3 separate regions of the Homo sapiens genome follow, and regions 1 and 2 are each linked to region 3. The links are contacts of gene promoters, found by promoter capture Hi-C in blood cells and fetal thymus (Javierre and others, 2016). All regions are on one chromosome and are shown on one strand. The core of a region is centred on a gene start or on the middle of the fragment in contact, and the rest is flanking DNA. Distances in the headings are between cores, read along the strand shown.

Region 1 (2,839 bases), core at 244-2,743, 5.0 Mb after region 3:
GAGGTTACTAAAGGATGGTTTTTTTTTAAATAAAACTTTCAGCATTATGCAAATGGGCATATGGCTTAGGATAAAACTTCCAGAAGTAGCATCACATTTAAATTCTCAAGCAACTTAATAATATGGGGCTCTGAAAAACTGGTTAAGGTTACTCCAAAAATGGCCCTGGGTCTGACAAAGATTCTAACTTAAAGATGCTTATGAAGACTTTGAGTAAAATCATTTCATAAAATAAGTGAGGAAAAACAACTAGTATTAAATTCATCTTAAATAATGTATGATTTAAAAAATATGTTTAGCTAAAAATGCATAGTCATTTGACAATTTCATTTATATCTCAAAAAATTTACTTAACCAAGTTGGTCACAAAACTGATGAGACTGGTGGTGGTAGTGAATAAATGAGGGACCATCCATATTTGAGACACTTTACATTTGTGATGTGTTATACTGAATTTTCAGTTTGATTCTATAGACTACAAATTTCAAAATTACAATTTCAAGATGTAATAAGTAGTAATATCTTGAAATAGCTCTAAAGGGAATTTTTCTGTTTTATTGATTCTTAAAATATATGTGCTGATTTTGATTTGCATTTGGGTAGATTATACTTTTATGAGTATGGAGGTTAGGTATTGATTCAAGTTTTCCTTACCTATTTGGTAAGGATTTCAAAGTCTTTTTGTGCTTGGTTTTCCTCATTTTTAAATATGAAATATATTGATGACCTTTAACAAATTTTTTTTATCTCAAATTTTAAAGGAGATCTTTTCTAAAAGAGGCATGATGACTTAATCATTGCATGTAACAGTAAACGATAAACCAATGATTCCATACTCTCTAAAGAATAAAAGTGAGCTTTAGGGCCGGGCATGGTCAGAAATTTGACACCAACCTGGCCAACATGGCGAAACCCCGTCTCTACTAAAAATACAAAAATCAGCCGGGCATGGTGGCGGCACCTATAGTCCCAGCTACTTGGGAGGATGAGACAGGAGAGTCACTTGAACCTGGGAGGAGAGGTTGCAGTGAGCTGAGATCACGCCATTGCACTCCAGCCTGAGCAATGAAAGCAAAACTCCATCTCAAAAAAAAAAAAAGAAAAGAAAGAATAAAAGTGAGCTTTGGATTGCATATAAATCCTTTAGACATGTAGTAGACTTGTTTGATACTGTGTTTGAACAAATTACGAAGTATTTTCATCAAAGAATGTTATTGTTTGATGTTATTTTTATTTTTTATTGCCCAGCTTCTCTCATATTACGTGATTTTCTTCACTTCATGTCACTTTATTGTGCAGGGTCAGAGTATTATTCCAATGCTTACTGGAGAAGTGATTCCTGTAATGGAACTGCTTTCATCTATGAAATCACACAGTGTTCCTGAAGAAATAGATGTAAGTTTAAATGAGAGCAATTATACACTTTATGAGTTTTTTGGGGTTATAGTATTATTATGTATATTATTAATATTCTAATTTTAATAGTAAGGACTTTGTCATACATACTATTCACATACAGTATTAGCCACTTTAGCAAATAAGCACACACAAAATCCTGGATTTTATGGCAAAACAGAGGCATTTTTGATCAGTGATGACAAAATTAAATTCATTTTGTTTATTTCATTACTTTTATAATTCCTAAAAGTGGGAGGATCCCAGCTCTTATAGGAGCAATTAATATTTAATGTAGTGTCTTTTGAAACAAAACTGTGTGCCAAAGTAGTAACCATTAATGGAAGTTTACTTGTAGTCACAAATTTAGTTTCCTTAATCATTTGTTGAGGACGTTTTGAATCACACACTATGAGTGTTAAGAGATACCTTTAGGAAACTATTCTTGTTGTTTTCTGATTTTGTCATTTAGGTTAGTCTCCTGATTCTGACAGCTCAGAAGAGGAAGTTGTTCTTGTAAAAATTGTTTAACCTGCTTGACCAGCTTTCACATTTGTTCTTCTGAAGTTTATGGTAGTGCACAGAGATTGTTTTTTGGGGAGTCTTGATTCTCGGAAATGAAGGCAGTGTGTTATATTGAATCCAGACTTCCGAAAACTTGTATATTAAAAGTGTTATTTCAACACTATGTTACAGCCAGACTAATTTTTTTATTTTTTGATGCATTTTAGATAGCTGATACAGTACTCAATGATGATGATATTGGTGACAGCTGTCATGAAGGCTTTCTTCTCAAGTAAGAATTTTTCTTTTCATAAAAGCTGGATGAAGCAGATACCATCTTATGCTCACCTATGACAAGATTTGGAAGAAAGAAAATAACAGACTGTCTACTTAGATTGTTCTAGGGACATTACGTATTTGAACTGTTGCTTAAATTTGTGTTATTTTTCACTCATTATATTTCTATATATATTTGGTGTTATTCCATTTGCTATTTAAAGAAACCGAGTTTCCATCCCAGACAAGAAATCATGGCCCCTTGCTTGATTCTGGTTTCTTGTTTTACTTCTCATTAAAGCTAACAGAATCCTTTCATATTAAGTTGTACTGTAGATGAACTTAAGTTATTTAGGCGTAGAACAAAATTATTCATATTTATACTGATCTTTTTCCATCCAGCAGTGGAGTTTAGTACTTAAGAGTTTGTGCCCTTAAACCAGACTCCCTGGATTAATGCTGTGTACCCGTGGGCAAGGTGCCTGAATTCTCTATACACCTATTTCCTCATCTGTAAAATGGCAATAATAGTAATAGTACCTAATGTGTAGGGTTGTTATAAGCATTGAGTAAGATAAATAATATAAAGCACTTAGAACAGTGCCTGGAACATAAAAACACTTAATAATAGCTCATAGCTAACATTTCCTATTTACATTTCTTC
Region 2 (2,790 bases), core at 111-2,610, 5.7 Mb after region 3:
TGGTAACTTTTTGAGGAACTGCCAAATTAGCTTCCAAAGTAGCTGCACAATTTTATATTCCTGCTAACAGTGTATGAGGATTCCAGTTTCTCTACATTATTACATTGTAAACTGTTAGAACAAGTGCTGATTCTTTTACTTTTTCAGTCTAATTATCATAGTGTTCATTAAAACTGACCCATTTTAAAACTGCTTTGTAAACAACTATCTGACCTCTGTGGTCAGGGAAGATTTTCCAGAGGAAATGACTGTTGAATTGTCTGAAGTATCTGAATTTGTTAATCTTGTGAATATAGTGTGATAGATAAAGGAGGGAGGAAAGACTGTCATAGGAAAATGGTATGCAAAAGCCCTGCTTCTATGAGCTGAAGGAAGGAGAATAGGTTACAGTCGAGTAATTCAAAGAAGATTGTGTCCTAAACACAAAGAATGAGCATGAAGGCCAGGTAGGCCATATTACCTTAGGAGCAATGGGAATTCATTGAAGAGTTTTAAACAAGAAGGATGAGTACGTATACATTTTATAAAATCCATTCTGCTAACAGTGTACAAAACAAAGAGACCTCAGATTAGATGCAGGGAGTCCCATTAAATGGCTATTGGTGTAACCCAGGCAAAAAATTGTGGTAGTTTGGAACAGAATTATGGCAGTAGATTTGGAGAGACTGGATAGAGTTGGGAGACAGAAAGTAAAATGGACAGAAATATCTTAAATTACTGAAATTACTTGGTTACTTTGATTATGATTATAAAGTTTTAAAAATGATGATAGCTCCTGGTACGTATGTTACTTTTCTGTATAATATTTGTGATTTGTAACATCTTTACTTCAATTTATTTATATGAATTTAAGTACAGTGATAATGCATACATAGAGCTTTTGGGTGAATGGCCTTTTAGGGGAAAATCCTAATTCTTCAAAAGTCTAAAATTTTAAGAAATTATTCAATATTTACTATACTTTTGTTTGTGTATCCTAAATATCTCTTCCCTTATAGCTACTCCTTGAGTTAATTGCAGTGTGGAGAGAAAAATCAAGTAATATTAAACAGATATTCTCTCCTATGGTTTTGATAAATAATTATGCAAAGAATTTGGGAATTTTTGATGAAGAAGAATTTATTAAATGAAAACGTATGATGTCATGTACGTATTCTTTATATTTTAAGTAGTATTGTTTAATGGTTCTTTATTCTTTTAACTTTAGGAAACTAAATATATTTTGCCAACTTTGGAAAAAGAATTATTCTTGGCAGAGCACAGTGACCTTGAAGAAGGTGGACTGGACCTGACTGTGTCATTGAAACCAGTTAGTTTCTATATATCAGACAAAAAAGAAATGCTTCAGCAGTGCTTCTGTATTATAGGAGAGAAAAAGTTACAGAAGATGCTTCCTGATGTGTTAAAGGTACTTCATTACACATCAGACTAGATACATATGTAGAAATACAGCCTTCTTTGTAGCAATTTTTTGTTTTACTTAATGCGGTTTTGTTTGTTTGTTTTTTTGAGACGGAGTCTTGCTCTGTCGCCCAGGCTGGAGTGTGGTGGCGTGATCTTGGCTCACTGCAACCTCCGCCTCCCGGGTTCAAGCAATTCTCTTGCCTCAGCCTCCTGAGTAGCTGGGACTACAGGCATGAACCACCATGCCCGGCTAATTTTTGGATTTTTAAGAGACGGGGTTTCACCGTGTTGGCCAGGCTGGTCTCGAACTCCTGACCTCGTGATCTGCCCACCTTGGCCTCCCAAGGTGTTGGAATTACAGGTGTGAGCCACCGTGCCTGGCGTTAATGCAGTTTTTAATTGGATGTTTACATCTAAAATAAGCTACTTGAAAAGATTTTGTAAAATAGAGAACCATAATATATTTGGTTCTTGGAGCCTTGTATATTTAAAAATTTGCCACGAAGAAATGTTTAGGCAAGAAATGTGTTGACTCTGTGGAGATAATTCTGTTAAATGCAGGGAATGATAGTAACTAAATTGGACATACAATCTTTATGGTGCTTTAAGAAATAATGTCACAATATGCTGCTGTGTAACAACAAACAGCAATGGTTAATAATAGCTTATATTTCATTAGATTCACAAGTATTTTTATTTATTTTTGAAAATTATTTAGGGAAATATTTGTTGTTTTAATTTTACAGTTGTAGAAATTGGCCTTGGTCACTAAAGTTAAGCCTGAGATCATATATCTAAAGATACAAGACTTGAATATTTAAACCTTTAGAATAATTACTTAACATAAATAGACTGCTTAAGAATAGCTGGGAAACTGACTCACTCTTTAGTTTTTTTCTTTGATAGTAAATACAAGTTTATGCATTCCCTTCAAATATGCAGTGTTCACATATTAACTGGCAGTTTTTCAGATTTCATCCCAGGAAAAGATGTATGTGAATCTACTTGAGGCTTTAATTTATTTTATTGTAAGATTTTGCTAACTTAAATTTTTATGATTGAAATTTTCCAGTTTACATTGGGGCTGTGTTACATAAATGCATTTTTTTAAAATGTCATTTCCTTTAGAACTGTTCAATAGAAGAAATTAAAAAACTATGCCAGGAACAGTTAGAGCTCCTGTCTGAAAAAAAAATTTTGAAGATTCTTGAGGGTAAGAATACATATTTTTACATTCTGGCAACTTCTTAGTTAATACTATATTCAGCATAAATCCTGAGGTATTCTTTCTCCTACTTGGATATTTAATTTCATTATTGGGTTGTTGTTGAAGAGTATTTTTACTTCTATTTGCACTAAAAAATATAGTTTACATATCAGAAAAGC
Region 3 (2,700 bases), core at 67-2,566:
TTATTTCCTCCACCATAGGTAGCATCTTTAAAAACCTCAATTGTTTTCATTCCCATTATTTTGAAAATTTAAGAAAATATGTATATATATTGAAATTACCACCATCTTTCTCTTTTTGGGTAAAAGCATACTGTACAAATTCCTATCCATTTTTTTTCCACTTTGTAATGTATTCTGGAGATCACACCACAGATGTATATAGAGTTCTTCCTTATTACTTTTGACGATTGTATTAGCATTTCATTGCTTTGTTGTGTGAAAGTTTTTGGGAAGCCACTGTTTTGGACTAGCTTCACGCACTAGGCCCCAGCAGACCAGACCAAACCAGAATGGAGTCGTTTGTGCTAAGTACCACACAATCAAACTGAACTTTGAAATGGGCCAGTTTCCCAAAAAATAGGAAATTCCCTTAAGTCTGAGTCAGTGAAACAAGGAAGTTTCTTCTGCTTTAACCCTAAAAGTAACTTTGAAACGATGAGTCCACTTTTTGTTCGGTTTCTGCTTTCTTCAGCCCCTATTTGCCAATAAAACCAACCGCCTCTGCTCAGCTGATCAGAACACTCATTCTACTTTATAGAATGAGGTGTTTTTTGATTCTAGAATCACGAATAAGAGTCAATTAAGATTTTTAAACTAATTCGTTGTAATGCTGTCTTTTGACTGTTGTACTACAATTTATTCAAGCAGTCCTTTATTTAGGAATTTGGGGGTAATTTCCAATATTTTGGTATTATGAATCGTGCTGAATAGTCGTGCATGCTCTTTCATATTTTCACCACACGTATTTTTGGGTGAAAGCATGAATTCATCTATGCAATTTTGCTAGATATTAAGCTACTCTTTTCACTATTCCTGTACAGATGGAGGGACAGATGAGACAGCTGCCCAGGGCACTTCAGCAGTTACTGGCATAGCTGGGATTTGAACTGGGATGTAACTATTTTCATACACTCTCTAGGTCATTCCAAGGTGGGAGAGGCAAGCAAATAATTTTGAATCTGGCCAGCATATTCACTGAAACATTTATGCTTATCCTTCCTCCTCCCAGCATACAAGTTCTTCCTTAGCAAAACCTCCAGTCCTCTAATTTAGCATACTTTCGTCTAATCTGTCACTTTCCTCAGGCCCCACAACTACGAGTACTCCTTGTCCCCACCCGGTCCTAATTTGGTCGGGTATAGCGGAGGTGGGCGTAGAGAGAACTGGAGGTGGAGACCTTTGTGCATGCCCACACACTGCTTTCCTCGCGAGGAATCTGGGGCCCTTGCAGAGGCGGAACCAGGATGTGACGTAATAACCGCGCGCGGCGCTCGGCGTTCCCGCAAGGTCGCTTTGCAGAGCGGGAGCGCGCTTAAGTAACTAGTCCGTAGTTCGAGGGTGCGCCGTGTCCTTTTGCGTTGGTACCAGCGGCGACATGACGGGGTACACTCCGGATGAGAAACTGCGGCTGCAGCAGCTGCGAGAGCTGAGAAGGCGATGGCTGAAGGACCAGGAGCTGAGCCCTCGGGAGCCGGTGCTGCCCCCACAGAAGATGGGGCCTATGGAGAAATTCTGGAATAAATTTTTGGAGAATAAATCCCCTTGGAGGAAAATGGTGAGTGACAGACCTCTCCGGTCCCCCCCAACACATCCCACTGCTGCCGGCAGCCTGAACACTGAACGTCCGCTCCCTGCAGCCACACCAAGGACTGATAACGCTCAGTGCTCTGGGACACTGGCCAGTCCCGAGAGTCCTCCTGGAGTCTCGGGAGGCAGGAGTCCAGGAATATGTATGGCTTTGAGAGAATCATGCCTTTTACTGTCAAGTACAGTGGACGGGGGCGAATTTTAATACTTAGGTTTTCCAGGACGCTGCACGTTTGGTTCTCTTTTGACTGTAGAAATCTTCCCTCAGAATAATAACCAAGGACTCGCTAGAATTAAAATTCTGTGATTTAAGTATTTGAGGACACTTGTCTGACTTTTAAGTGTGAGGTTCTAGAGACCAAGTAACACAGTATCCAACCACCAGAGGGCACAGCCAGCCCCTAGCTGATAGTACAGCCCCATGTGATCCCCGTAAAAGACAGGGTCCTGTTGGTATGCCTTGTGAGTCACATTCAAGAGCTACCTTTCTAAACTACCGTTCTGTACTTTTAACACAGTGTTTCATTAAAAAAATCGCATTTTGGGCTTTGAAGAAAATCACTCATTCAAGAACTTTATTTTCAAGGCCTCTGGGTATTTTCTTGAGGACTGTTATGGATGATAAACATCTCAGAATTGCTTTCAGTTACCTGCAACACTTACTGATGACAGGATAATAGTAGTAACAATACTACGTAACACACGGGTGCTTGCTGTGTGCTTGGCACTCTACTGGGGGTTTTACATGTGTTACTTCATTTCTTTATTCCTGTAAGGTAGATATTCCTAATCCTCATTTTAAATGTGAAGAAACTGAGGCCTACAAAGCTTCAGTGATTTGCTGGTGGTCAGGGAGCTAGGAATTGAATATGAGTTCATATTGTAATCAACATGTATCTGATTCTTACTGTGCTACAAAGTCTAGTGCAATAGAATTGTTGAAAATTTTTCTGAGAAAGTGATATTGGATACTTATTTATGGTGGTAAAATTCAACTCTTCTCCCACCCTTTGTATCCCTGACATTATCGGAATATTGGCAGTCACTGATTTAAAGTTGACATCCCATCCATCA

The links. Contacts are between HindIII fragments. The CHiCAGO score rates a contact against its expected background, and 5 or more counts as called.
Region 1: a contact is called between a fragment that was not itself captured here and the fragment with the promoter of NDUFB6 in region 3, in 1 of 17 cell types (non-activated CD4 T cells). The highest score is 6.4, in non-activated CD4 T cells.
Region 2: a fragment that was not itself captured here is called in contact with the fragment with the promoter of NDUFB6 in region 3 in 1 of 17 cell types (total CD4 T cells); the score reaches 8.4 in total CD4 T cells.

What each region holds. Positions count from the first base shown.
Region 1 is chr9:27,560,937-27,563,775 of GRCh38, reverse strand. It overlaps C9orf72 (C9orf72-SMCR8 complex subunit), which reads left to right. Exons shown (of 11, transcript NM_018325.5): 4 at 1,300-1,395; 5 at 2,127-2,191. Among named protein-coding and RNA genes, the nearest start is that of C9orf72, 11 kb to the left of the region's middle. The HindIII fragment of the contact is 8,318 bases long and covers 1-2,839 here.
Region 2 is chr9:26,885,931-26,888,720 of GRCh38, reverse strand. It overlaps CAAP1 (caspase activity and apoptosis inhibitor 1), which reads left to right. Exons shown (of 6, transcript NM_024828.4): 2 at 1,208-1,408; 3 at 2,533-2,617. Among named protein-coding and RNA genes, the nearest start is that of CAAP1, 5.5 kb to the left of the region's middle. The HindIII fragment of the contact is 6,458 bases long and covers 1-2,790 here.
Region 3 is chr9:32,571,775-32,574,474 of GRCh38, reverse strand. NDUFB6 (NADH:ubiquinone oxidoreductase subunit B6) reads left to right here and starts at 1,316. Exons shown (of 4, transcript NM_002493.5): 1 at 1,316-1,594. The coding sequence starts at 1,415. RefSeq lists enhancers at 909-958, 1,229-1,768. The HindIII fragment of the contact is 6,496 bases long and covers 1-2,456 here.